3 separate regions of the Homo sapiens genome follow, and all the other regions are linked to region 2. The links are contacts of gene promoters, found by promoter capture Hi-C in human tissues and cell types (Jung and others, 2019). All regions are on one chromosome and are shown on one strand. Each heading gives the region's core, a stretch centred on a gene start or on the middle of the fragment in contact. The rest is flanking DNA. Distances are from core to core; before and after follow the strand shown. Region 1 overlaps LARGE1 (LARGE xylosyl- and glucuronyltransferase 1). Region 2 holds the start of HMGXB4 (HMG-box containing 4). Region 3 overlaps LARGE1 (LARGE xylosyl- and glucuronyltransferase 1).

The links. Contacts are between HindIII fragments. The study calls those that stand out against the background at their distance.
Region 1: a fragment that was not itself captured here is called in contact with the fragment with the promoter of HMGXB4 in region 2 in 1 of the 25 tissues and cell types used here (dorsolateral prefrontal cortex).
Region 3: a contact is called between a fragment that was not itself captured here and the fragment with the promoter of HMGXB4 in region 2, in 1 of the 25 tissues and cell types used here (lymphoblastoid cells).

Annotation. Positions count from the first base shown.
Region 1 is chr22:33,781,890-33,785,120 of GRCh38, forward strand. All of the region lies in intron 1 of LARGE1 (LARGE xylosyl- and glucuronyltransferase 1), which reads right to left. Among named protein-coding and RNA genes, the nearest start is that of LARGE-AS1, 59 kb to the left of the region's middle. RefSeq lists an enhancer at 799-1,299. The HindIII fragment of the contact is 3,854 bases long and covers 1-3,231 here.
Region 2 is chr22:35,255,667-35,259,193 of GRCh38, forward strand. HMGXB4 (HMG-box containing 4) reads left to right here and starts at 1,827. Exons shown (of 11, transcript NM_001003681.3): 1 at 1,827-1,891. LOC105373017 (a long non-coding RNA gene) reads right to left here. Exons shown (of 4, transcript XR_938210.3): 1 at 2,522-3,527; 2 at 1,547-1,595. RefSeq lists an enhancer at 1,121-1,621 and a silencer at 1,887-2,386. The HindIII fragment of the contact is 11,453 bases long and covers 778-3,527 here.
Region 3 is chr22:33,566,057-33,569,658 of GRCh38, forward strand. The region is part of intron 5 of LARGE1 (LARGE xylosyl- and glucuronyltransferase 1); the gene reads right to left. Among named protein-coding and RNA genes, the nearest start is that of MIR4764, 130 kb to the left of the region's middle. RefSeq lists a silencer at 3,587-3,602. The HindIII fragment of the contact is 6,389 bases long and covers 1-3,602 here.

The sequences.
Region 1 (3,231 bases), core at 625-3,124, 1.5 Mb before region 2:
GAGACTGAAAGAACCAGCACATGGTAAAAGAAAATCAATGTGTGTGTGTGTATATACATATATATATATACACACACACAGACTCAAGATCACTGAATTTAAGCCTGAAAGAGAGCTTGGGGAGGAGGTAGTTCTCTAATACAATGTAAATTATCTGCATGGGGAAAATGAGGCTCAGACAAAGAATTGGCATATCCAAAGTTAGCCAGAGGGCAAAGGATAGAATTAAGTCTGGAGTCCGAGTTCTTCTTTTTGGGTTCTGCTGTTTGTTTTATCCTCCTCCTCCTCAAATCAACTATTTTTAAAAATGTTTAAAGCACTAAAATATGGCAAGGTTCATGACTGAGACGCATTTAAGACGGGAGGGAGAGTAGCCCCTATCCTTTATGTCTCTCCCAGTCCAAATCCACAGAGACAGAACATGGTTATCAGGAGCTAGAATAAGAGGAGAGTGGCAGTGACTGATAATGCATATGGGGTTTCTTTTGGGAGTGAGGAAAATGTTCTGGAATTCGTTGTGACAATCACACAACCTTGTGAAAATACTAAAAACCACTAAATTGTACATTATATGAATTGTACATTTTAAACACACATTTAAATGTGTTGTTGTTTTACATCAGTGACACGAGAACAATGAAGAGTCAGGGCTTCATCACATAGATTAGCTACTACCAAAATAAAGAATCAAATTGGGCTGGGCGCGGTGGCTCATGCATGCAATCCCAGCACTTTGGGAGGCCGAGGCGGGCGCATCACGAGGTCAGGAGATCAAGACCATCCTGGCCAACATGGTGAAACCCCGTCTCTACTAAAAATACAAAAATTAGCTGGGCGTGGTGGTGCGTGCCTGTAATCCCAGCTACTCGGGAGGCTGAGGCAGAAGAATCACTTGAACCCGGGAGGTGGAGGTTGCAGTGAGCCAACATCACGCCACTGCACTCCAGCCTGGCAACAGAGTGAGACTCTGTCTCCAAAAAAACAAAATCAAGTTTAAAAAAAAAAAAAAAGAGAGAGAGAGAGGGAGTGTTCCACTTCCACTCATCACACCCTTATTTTTCCTGAGAAATTTCCAGACCGTAGCGTGTCAGGCCATACACTACAGTGCTTCGGCCTGATTTAATTGGCATTGTAATGCTGTGACACAAATGCTATGGTACTCAATTTACAGACGAAAAGACTAAGTATCCAAAAGGTCAGGAGATTCCCTCAAGATCATATAAAGGGCCAAAAGCTTGTTTTCTAGGTCTCCTATCACAGCACTTAGCAAAACACGTTAATCCACTGGATCTGTTTCTCTCTCATCAGAGTGATGAGAGTCTCTTTGAGCACTATGTTTCTTCAGAAAAAAAAAAAATTTGCAAGAGCAGTTTGAGATTATAGCCAAATCATGGGAAAAGGGACTAGAAGGCTGAGATATTTAAAAATTTGTTTGGGAGGCTGAGGCGGTGGATCACCTGAGGTCAGGAGTTCGAGAACAGCCTGGCCAACATGGCAAAACCCCATCTCTACTAAAAATGCAAAAATTAGCTGGGCATGGTGGCGGGTGCCTGTAATCCCAGCTACTTGGGAGGCTGTGGCAGGAGAATCGCTTGAACCTGGGAGGCGGAGGTTGCAGTGAGCTGAGATCATGCCATTTCACTCCAGCCTGGGCAACAGAGCGAAACTCCATCTCAAAAAACACAAATTTGTATGGAGAGTTATCATGAAAGGAAGAAGAGGTGTCTACTAAAAGTACTCTCCAGACAGAAGAGCAGTGTTTTGTTGTTATTGTTGTTGTTGTTGATTTAATCAAACAAGTATCCATTGTGGCCTACTACATATGAGAAATTGCTTGCAACCCAGCCAAGGATATGGTCGCAGGATAAGAGAATGGCAGTGCTGGTGCCACTGCATGATTCTGACAATCACTGCTGCAGAACGGGCTCTAACTTCCCTGGTGGTTATTGACCACCAGGCTCTACTGGAAGTAGTGGAAGTAGTGGGCGGTAGAGGGAGATTAGAGTGGTCTTTCCTCAATGGGCTCTAAAAAGGACCTATGTGTTTAAAAGGAGCTTCCAAGTTGGTAAGGCCAATCAGTTCCAAATCACTAAGACAATCTCTCTCTTTCTTTTTTCTTTTTCCCCTTTTAGTGCATGGCAGATCCAAGATTACCTCCAATCCATCCTTCAGAGACCTCCTCTTTGGTAAAACCAACTCAGACTCCTCTGAGCTCTCACTAGACTCTGCTTAATTAGAATGGCTTTTCGTTTCGTTTTGTTTAACAACTGCAACAATTGCTTTCTGCTAATGAATAAACCAATAACATTACGACTTGCAGTAGTATTTTCTATCATATACTGAGCAGTATCTTTCTGCAATGCCAAGCTCTACATACATGAGTGCTTCACATACGTTGTCTTACTAAAATCCAACCCTGTAAATTAGTTAATACTATCCCCAATGTATAGAAGAGGAAATAAAGCAATTTGCTCGAAGTCACAAGCCAGTAAATGATGGAACAAAAATATAAACCCAGCAATCTGACTCCAGAATGTCTATTTGTCACCATATGGCCTGTGTATAGCGTGGGAGCTCCTGGAAGTTAACTAAAGAACTACTAACTTCTCGCTTAAATTTGAGGGAACAAAAATGGAAGGTAAGGATTTCTAGTGCCCTAATTCACTTTTTAAACCAGTTCAGAGTTTAGGTGCTCCGGTGCAAGATCAATAATGTATTGAAAAGTTAGAATAAAAGTGGCATTCTACCCTCAAAGAAGTCTGTTCTGCTTTCAGGAGACAGTCACAGGTACTAATATGCACAAAATGAATCTTTATTTTATTTATATACACACATACAGAGTTTATATTTGTACATAAACAATATATATACCATATATTCATACAGTATGTATACCATATAGTATACATACACACATACACATATGTATATACACATATATGTATAATATACACACATAGACAGTTTATATTTGTACGTATTTATACTATATTTGTACAGTATATATACTGTATATTATATGTGTGTGTATATACATATATGTATATACACGTGTATACATGTGTACATGGGTATATACATGTGTATACATACATATGTGTACGTGTATATACATATATGTGTATACATACATATGTGTATATACATATATGTGTATACATACATGTGTATATAGATATATGTGTATACATACATATGTGTATATACATGTGTATACATACATATGTGTAT
Region 2 (3,527 bases), core at 577-3,076:
CCTGGAAGTGACCATGTCTGCAGGTACTGGAAATTTCAATCATGTGAGCCAATAAATTCCCCTCTTCTGGGGAAACACATGGAAATGGGTTTCTGTCACAACTGAAATCATCCTGACCAATGGATTTAGGGCTCTGAAGAACAAAAAGGAAATACATCATTAGGGCTCTTAAATGCCTCAAAGGGAAGCCTAACGTCAGGCAGGGTGTCCCAGAAATGCAATCTAACACCTTTTGGTGAAACTCATTGCCTGTCTTTTTGGTGAGTAGGATGGGAGCTGCGGAGAAAAAGGCCATGCTACTTTTATTAAGTATTTGCAGTTACATTTTGCAAATGATTTCAGCAACTTTATCTCAGGTGTTTTAACATCTCAGCATCTCACAGTTGTAAGAAACAGAATCAATCTTCTACTCAGTGCAGAGGGGGAGAGAGCATGATATAGCAAAAAGAGCACTGAACCAGAGTCTAACAATCTGGCTTTTCATCTTTATCTGATCACTGATTAGAGTGTGGTCTCAGACAAATCACCTTGCTTTTATTGGTCTCATGACTACCTCGTCTTCAAGCACTCACCCAACTCTGCAATGGAAAATACACTAGGACAGAGGTTCTTAATTTTTTATGGGGCCTGGGCCCTAGGAAAACACACACTGCACACATGATTTTACGTTGCATGGGGTTCACAACTCTAGAAGCCAATCTACATCTCTAACTTCTCTGCTTTACAGTAACACCAGCTTCTGCTTGAGCGCTCCTCCAGTGGGAGGGAGCTCACTACTCACAAGGAAGCCCATTGTACTACTGAACTGTACTAGAAAAATAAGTTATTCTTCATATATATATATATTTTTTGAGATGGAGTCTCACTCTGTCCCCCAGGCTGGAGTGCAGTGGCGCAATCTCGGCTCACTGCAATCTCCGCCTCCCGGGTTCAAGCGATTCTCCTGCCTCAGCCTCCTAAGTAGCTGGGATTACAGGCACGCGCCACCACGCCTGGCTAATTTTTTGTATTTTTAGTAGAGACGGGGTTTCACCACATTGGTCAGGCTGGTCTCGAACTCCTGACCTCAGGTGATCCACCCACCTCAGCCTCCCAAAGTGCTGGGATTACAGGCGTGAGCCACCGCCCCTGGCGTTCTTCTTCATATCAAACCAAGTTCTATACACTGTAATTTCTACTCATTGGTCGAAGTTCTCAATGGCAAATCAGAAAAATTGTGTTCTCGCCTGTATATGACATCTCTTCCTCTCTCTCTCTGAAGACTGTTTCTAACTAAAAAATGTAGATGATTCGCCATGCAAATTATTTTACTGTACATTGTTACAAAGATAAGTTCTTCACCTCACCCCTAATATGCCAAATGTTCAAATGTAGATGCTGAAGTCCAAATAAGCACACTGCTATTAATCTGCATAGATCTAGGTGTTGCAAAGAGGAGAACTGCTGTATAACAATATCTTGAAAGAAACAGCATAGTATTTTGGGGAAAGCACTGCATTCAGAATCAGAAGACTTGGAGTAATACTCGGTCTCACATTCCAACTACCTGTGTATCCTTGGGCACGTCACTTAACTTCTCTCAGCCTGGTTCTCTTCTGCAAAATGCGACAGGAATACAGTGAGGATTAAGTGAAATAATGTTTGTAAGCTTCTAGGGCAAGGCTGGGACATAGCAAATTCTCAATAAATAAGTGCCAGCTCCCGCGCTCAGCAGGCTCCGAGTTTTATTCGATGCGCTCGGCGCTCTTGGTCGAGCGGGATTCCCCCTCCGGAGCCCGAGTCTGCGCTCTGGGCTCGACTGAGGCTCCCTGGCCGCTCGCGCTTTTCTCTCCTTCTCCAAGATGGCGGCGATCGGCGGCGTTGAGGCGGGATCCGGGCGAGCCGAGTGAAGGTAGCGGCGAGCGGAGACCCCAGGAGACCGGGCTGGGCCCCCACCCTGAGGCGGCAGCAGCCCCGCCCCGTCGCCACCCGCCGCCCTGGGCCCGCGACATCACCTCTGGGGTGCCCCAGGCCCTTCGCGGCCTAGCCCAGGGGCCGAGCCGGGGACTGGAGTAGCGGCCGCAGCCGCCCCCAGGAAGGGGCTGGAGCGGGCAGAAGGAGGAGGGCGGGCGGGAGCTGTTCAAACGGGGAAGGCGGGAAAGCTGCGGGGCCGGGAGGGGGCGTGCGGCCGCCCCGGGGGCCTGCGGACCCGGGCCGCCCCTCCCCCTGCCCGGGCCGTCTCCGCCCTCGGGGGCGCCGTGAGGCCGCCGGAGACGCGGGAACCCGGGTTCAGGTCGAGCTGTGCGGCTCGGAACCCGCGATGCGGGGGTCCCTCGGGCTGTCAGGGGGAAAGGGCTCGTGGCCGCGGCCACGGGAGGGCTGGGGCTGCGGCTGGCAGGAGAAAGTACGAGGAGCTTTCTTCTTTTCCTCTTCACAGAGCTTTGTTGAGCTAGCTGTTGCCGCAAAACTGCCGGGAGAATCCCACTGGTTTGCCTTGGGGACCACAAAAATGGTGGTCCTGGGGGCTGTTTGTGTAAATCACCTGGTATTTTGTGTGTTTCTTGCGTGCAACCCGGCTTGGCCGTGCCTTCGTGGTGGGCGCCTTCTCCATGCAGGCCCATTTTCCCTCCACCAACTACTACTTGTAGATTCACTTTATAGCGTGCAAAAGCGGAGAAACATCTCTGTCCCCTCTTTTGGAGGGCTAAGCTGGTGGCTGATTATATTTCCTCCTAATAGAACAAAGTAAAAAACTGAATCCCAAATAAAGCCTGTTGATTGGACAAGGCTTCTCAAAATTCGATTGCTGGTCTTATGGAATGTGTGTTGTCAGCCAATCTGTGCGGTGGTCGTGGTTCCGCTTAATTGCACTGCAATGAGAGGATTCAATCCCCATCCCCGACTGTCGGGATCTCTGCAGCTTCCAGAGCTGGCAGGGGCTGGGAGTGCTGCCTAGGTAGGTCCCTGGAGAAGGGAGTGGCAAGAGGATTCGGAGTCACCGTGTTCGGAGATTGGAAGAAACCTGGACGAAGTTGAGAAGGCATCACTTGTCTGTATCGTAGAAGTAACAAGAAAATTTCAGAAATTGGCAACCGGCGGATGTGCATCTTCCTTTACCTGCACTGACTGGCATTTTGAGTTCTTGAAAGGAGTGGTTGGAAGAAGAGAATGCAGAATCTTGGACATGGCTCTCATCCTGGAACAGACCTGGAGTTCAGAATTTCTCTTACTGTCCGTGTGACGGGGCTTACTTTGTTTCCTTTTTTTCGATACTCATTTACATTATGGGGTGAAGAAGGTTGTTGATTGCAGGAGCTCAAGTTACCTCAAAAAAAGTCTGAAACCTGTTTTTTAACTGTAATTTGAAGTTTCAAAATGACAAAGTGCTATATCTGAGGACTTTTTCCTCCTGATTACTTTGGTCATCCCAAAGGCCTATGCCTGAACATAACTTGTATGCTTATCTACCAGGGAAAGAGCAACTCTGCCCCCTCCTTTTTCATATCCTGAAGAAAAGTCCCCGAAGAGCTATTTAACAATTTGTGCAT
Region 3 (3,602 bases), core at 192-2,691, 1.7 Mb before region 2:
GGATTCCAAAAAATATTGATCTCCTTTGACCTTACAAATACCATGTTGAGGAGATGTTCTTAAAAAAATTCAAATTTAAAAATTTTGTTTTAGACACCAAAGTTTTATTCCCAAAGATGTTCATCACCATGTTACCAAAGAACAGCCATCAAAATGCCCCAAAATGGAACAATTAATTCAAACATGATACTCTTGTTTTTCTGATAGCATACTATGTAATTGTTTAAAACAATGTGGATCAAGATATAATTTCTAAAAACCTGCATATGATGTTAAAGGGGAAAAAAGCAAGCTTTAAAACTGCTTTTACTTAAAAACAACTACGTGTAATCAAACCAAATGAAACACATTCACCCAAATCTATGCAAAGGAAGAAAAAAATAGCAGCAAGACATCAAACTGTGTGCGGAGCTGGCTCCTTCCGGGGGGTTCTTGGTCTCGCTGACTTCAAGAGTGAAGCTGTGGACCTTTGTGGTGAGTATCACAGCTCTTAAAGGTGGCGCAGACCCAAAGAGTGAGCAGCAGCAAGATTTACTGTGAAGAGCGAAAGAACAAAGCTTCCACAGCTTGGAAGGGAAGCCGAGAGGGATGCCGCTGCTGGCTGGGGTGGCCAGCTTTTATTCCCTTATTTCTCCCTGCCCACATCCTGCTGATTGGTCCATTTTACAGAGCACTGATTGGTCATTTTACAGAGTGCTGATTGGTCCATTTTATAAAGTGCTGATTGGTGTGTGTTTACAATCCTTTAGCTAGACACAGAGCACTGATGGTACATTTTTACAGAGTGCTAACTGATGCATTTACAATCCTTTCGCTAGACATAAAAGTTCTCCAAGTCCCCATTTGACCCAGGAAGTCCAGCTGGCTTCACCTCTCATCAATTTCAAAAAAAGCATCCCCAACTCTGTGTATGAGTCCCTGTCACCCTACACCCAGGCATCATGGAGGTGGGGAAAAAGGACAGAAGTTCAAATCTGGGCTCTAGCCCCACACAAAGCATTTGATCTCTCTAAGCCTTGGTTTCTTTACCTGTAAAATGGAGTGTGTTTCAGAGATGGAATGGGTCTCATGAGTCAGCATGGGGAACCTGTCTCATAGCTGCCCTAAATTGGCCTCCTGTGTGCCACCATCACTAGACTATGATGTTAGAAAAAAATGTGGTTACTTAGTTTTTTTTTAAGAGTAGTTGCTCATTTTTAAAAGTTGGTAAAATGGAGACGATGCCTACTTCACACAGTGGTATAAAAATTAAATTATATTAAAGGACTCAAGGGCGTGGTACACAAAATATACTCAGTAATAAGCTCCCGCCCTTCTTCCTGATCCCTCTATCTTATTCCATGTATTTAGCTATCAGTGCCTCTTTTGGTGCTTCCAGATGAAGGTAAGGGTCTGTGGGATGTATGCAGGAGAGCAAAACACCCTGGGTGGTAGATTCAGGCATGCCTGGATTTAGATTCTAGTATCATCACTTAATCGCCATGTCACCTTGGACAGGTTTGCTCAGCTTTTCTGAGTTTCTGCTATTTATAAAGGTCATGATTTCTTTTTTAAAAAATTTTTAATTTTAGATTCTGGGGGTACACACGCATTTTTGTTACATGGGTACACTGTGTAATGGTGGAGACTGGACTTCCAGTATACCTGTCACCTGAATGTTGAACACTGTATCCAGCAGGCAATTTCTCACCCCTCACACAGCTCTCACCCTCCCCTCTTTTGGAGACCCCAGTGTCTATTATTTCCAGCTTTGTATCCAGGTATGCCCGTTGTTTAGCTTCCATCTGTAAGTGAGAACATGTGATATTTGATTTTCTGCTTCTGAGTTAGTTCACTTAGGATAATGGCCTCCAGCTCCATCCATGTTGCTACACTTACTTCATCCTATCAGGCAGTGTGTGGGTGGAAACAGCACACTCTCCTGGGGAATCTAAGGAAGATTTAATAAAAGGACTATTTAATCTAAGTATATGCAGAATTAGGGGCAGTAACAAGAACCGTGCAGTTACTTGAGGAGGGGAAGAGTACTTGGGGCCATTACCACCCCAAGGCCAAAAGGGCCCAGGCCAGCAGATGCTGGAATCCAGAGAGAATTGCTGTTTGAGTAAGGCCACCTGGCTGAGGCAGTGACCTTCAGCAGAGGGACACAGCCTACCTGTGGCAACGCATAAGCCAGAACAGGAAAAAACATCTCAACCTCACTTCCCTCCTGCCCACCAGTCTCCCGGGAGGGCAGCCCTCCAGTCAACCCTAACGGAAACCAGAGCGAAAGCGAGACTAGAGATGCTTTATGCATCAGCCTCATGGAGCATAAAGTGAGGGTTACGGCAAGAGAGGACCTAGAAGGAAAAACCTCACACAACCGAGTCATACAGTTAACACAAGGGCAAATTAAATGAACAACAACAAAATCAAAGCACAATGCCCTGGCTGGGCGCAGTGGCTCACGCCTGTAATCCCAGAACTTTAGGAGGCTGAGGTGGGCGGATCCCCTGAGGTTGGGAGTTCGAGACCAGCCTGAACAACAGGGAGAAATGCCATCTCTACTAAAAATACAAAATTAGCCGGGTGTGGTGGTGCATGTCTGTAATCCCAGCTACTCGGGAGGCTGAGGCAGGAGAATCACTTGAACCTAGGAAGCGGAAGTTGCGGTGAGCAGAGATCGCACCATTGCACTCCAGCCTGGGCAACAAAAGCGAAACTCAGTCTCAAAAAAAAAAAAAAAAAAATAAGCACAATGCCTTGTATATAATAGGTACAAAACACATATCTGGAACAGATGGATGGATGGATGGATGAATGCATGGATGGATGGATGGATGGATGGATGATGGATGGCAGGCAGGCATAGGAAGGCGGGCGATTTGTCTACAATCCCACAGCCAGCAAGATGCAAAGCTCTAAGAGTCAGAATTTGCCAGGAGAAGGTTTGTGTTCTTTCCCCAAACTACATTATCCTTCCTTTAGAGTGAGCCATCACCGTTAAGATCCGAGGACTCAGTGAGGAATTCCCTCCCATGTGCTTTATAAACATCTTCCTCATGAAAGCCCTGGCCTTTGGAGCTCAGCTCAGCTTCCTCTCTCCTCTAGCAATCTGCCTGAACTGAGGCTTGGCAATCATTAGTCCATGCTGCAGAGCTGTGCTATTTAATCAGACCTTTGATTAACTTATTCATCTATTTTGGTTACCATCAAAGCAGGAGAGCTGGGTGAAGACTGAACACGAGAGTGATGGGTTAAGCTGTCTAATTAGATTGCCCTGACTCTCCGTTTTATTTTTAACACACATGTGAGGCACTCAGTTACACTGCAAAACAGGAAGACTACAGGAATAAATTAATCTCAACATGAGCCCAGTCCTGAATGTCACTCCAAGTCCCCAACTTAATACATAATCAATTAAGTCCAAGTGTTCAATTAGTTGTAAAGGAGGCAATGGGATGAGTTTGTATTCAGAAAGAAAGCCCCAGGAAAAGGTGGAAAATTAAGAAATTTGGTGGTGGGGAAAGAACAAGTGGTAAGAAGCAGGTACATTTATTACAAATAGCTCACCCTCTTAGAGACGGCATGATATCTAGCACTCTTCCCCCACCTCCATCCAC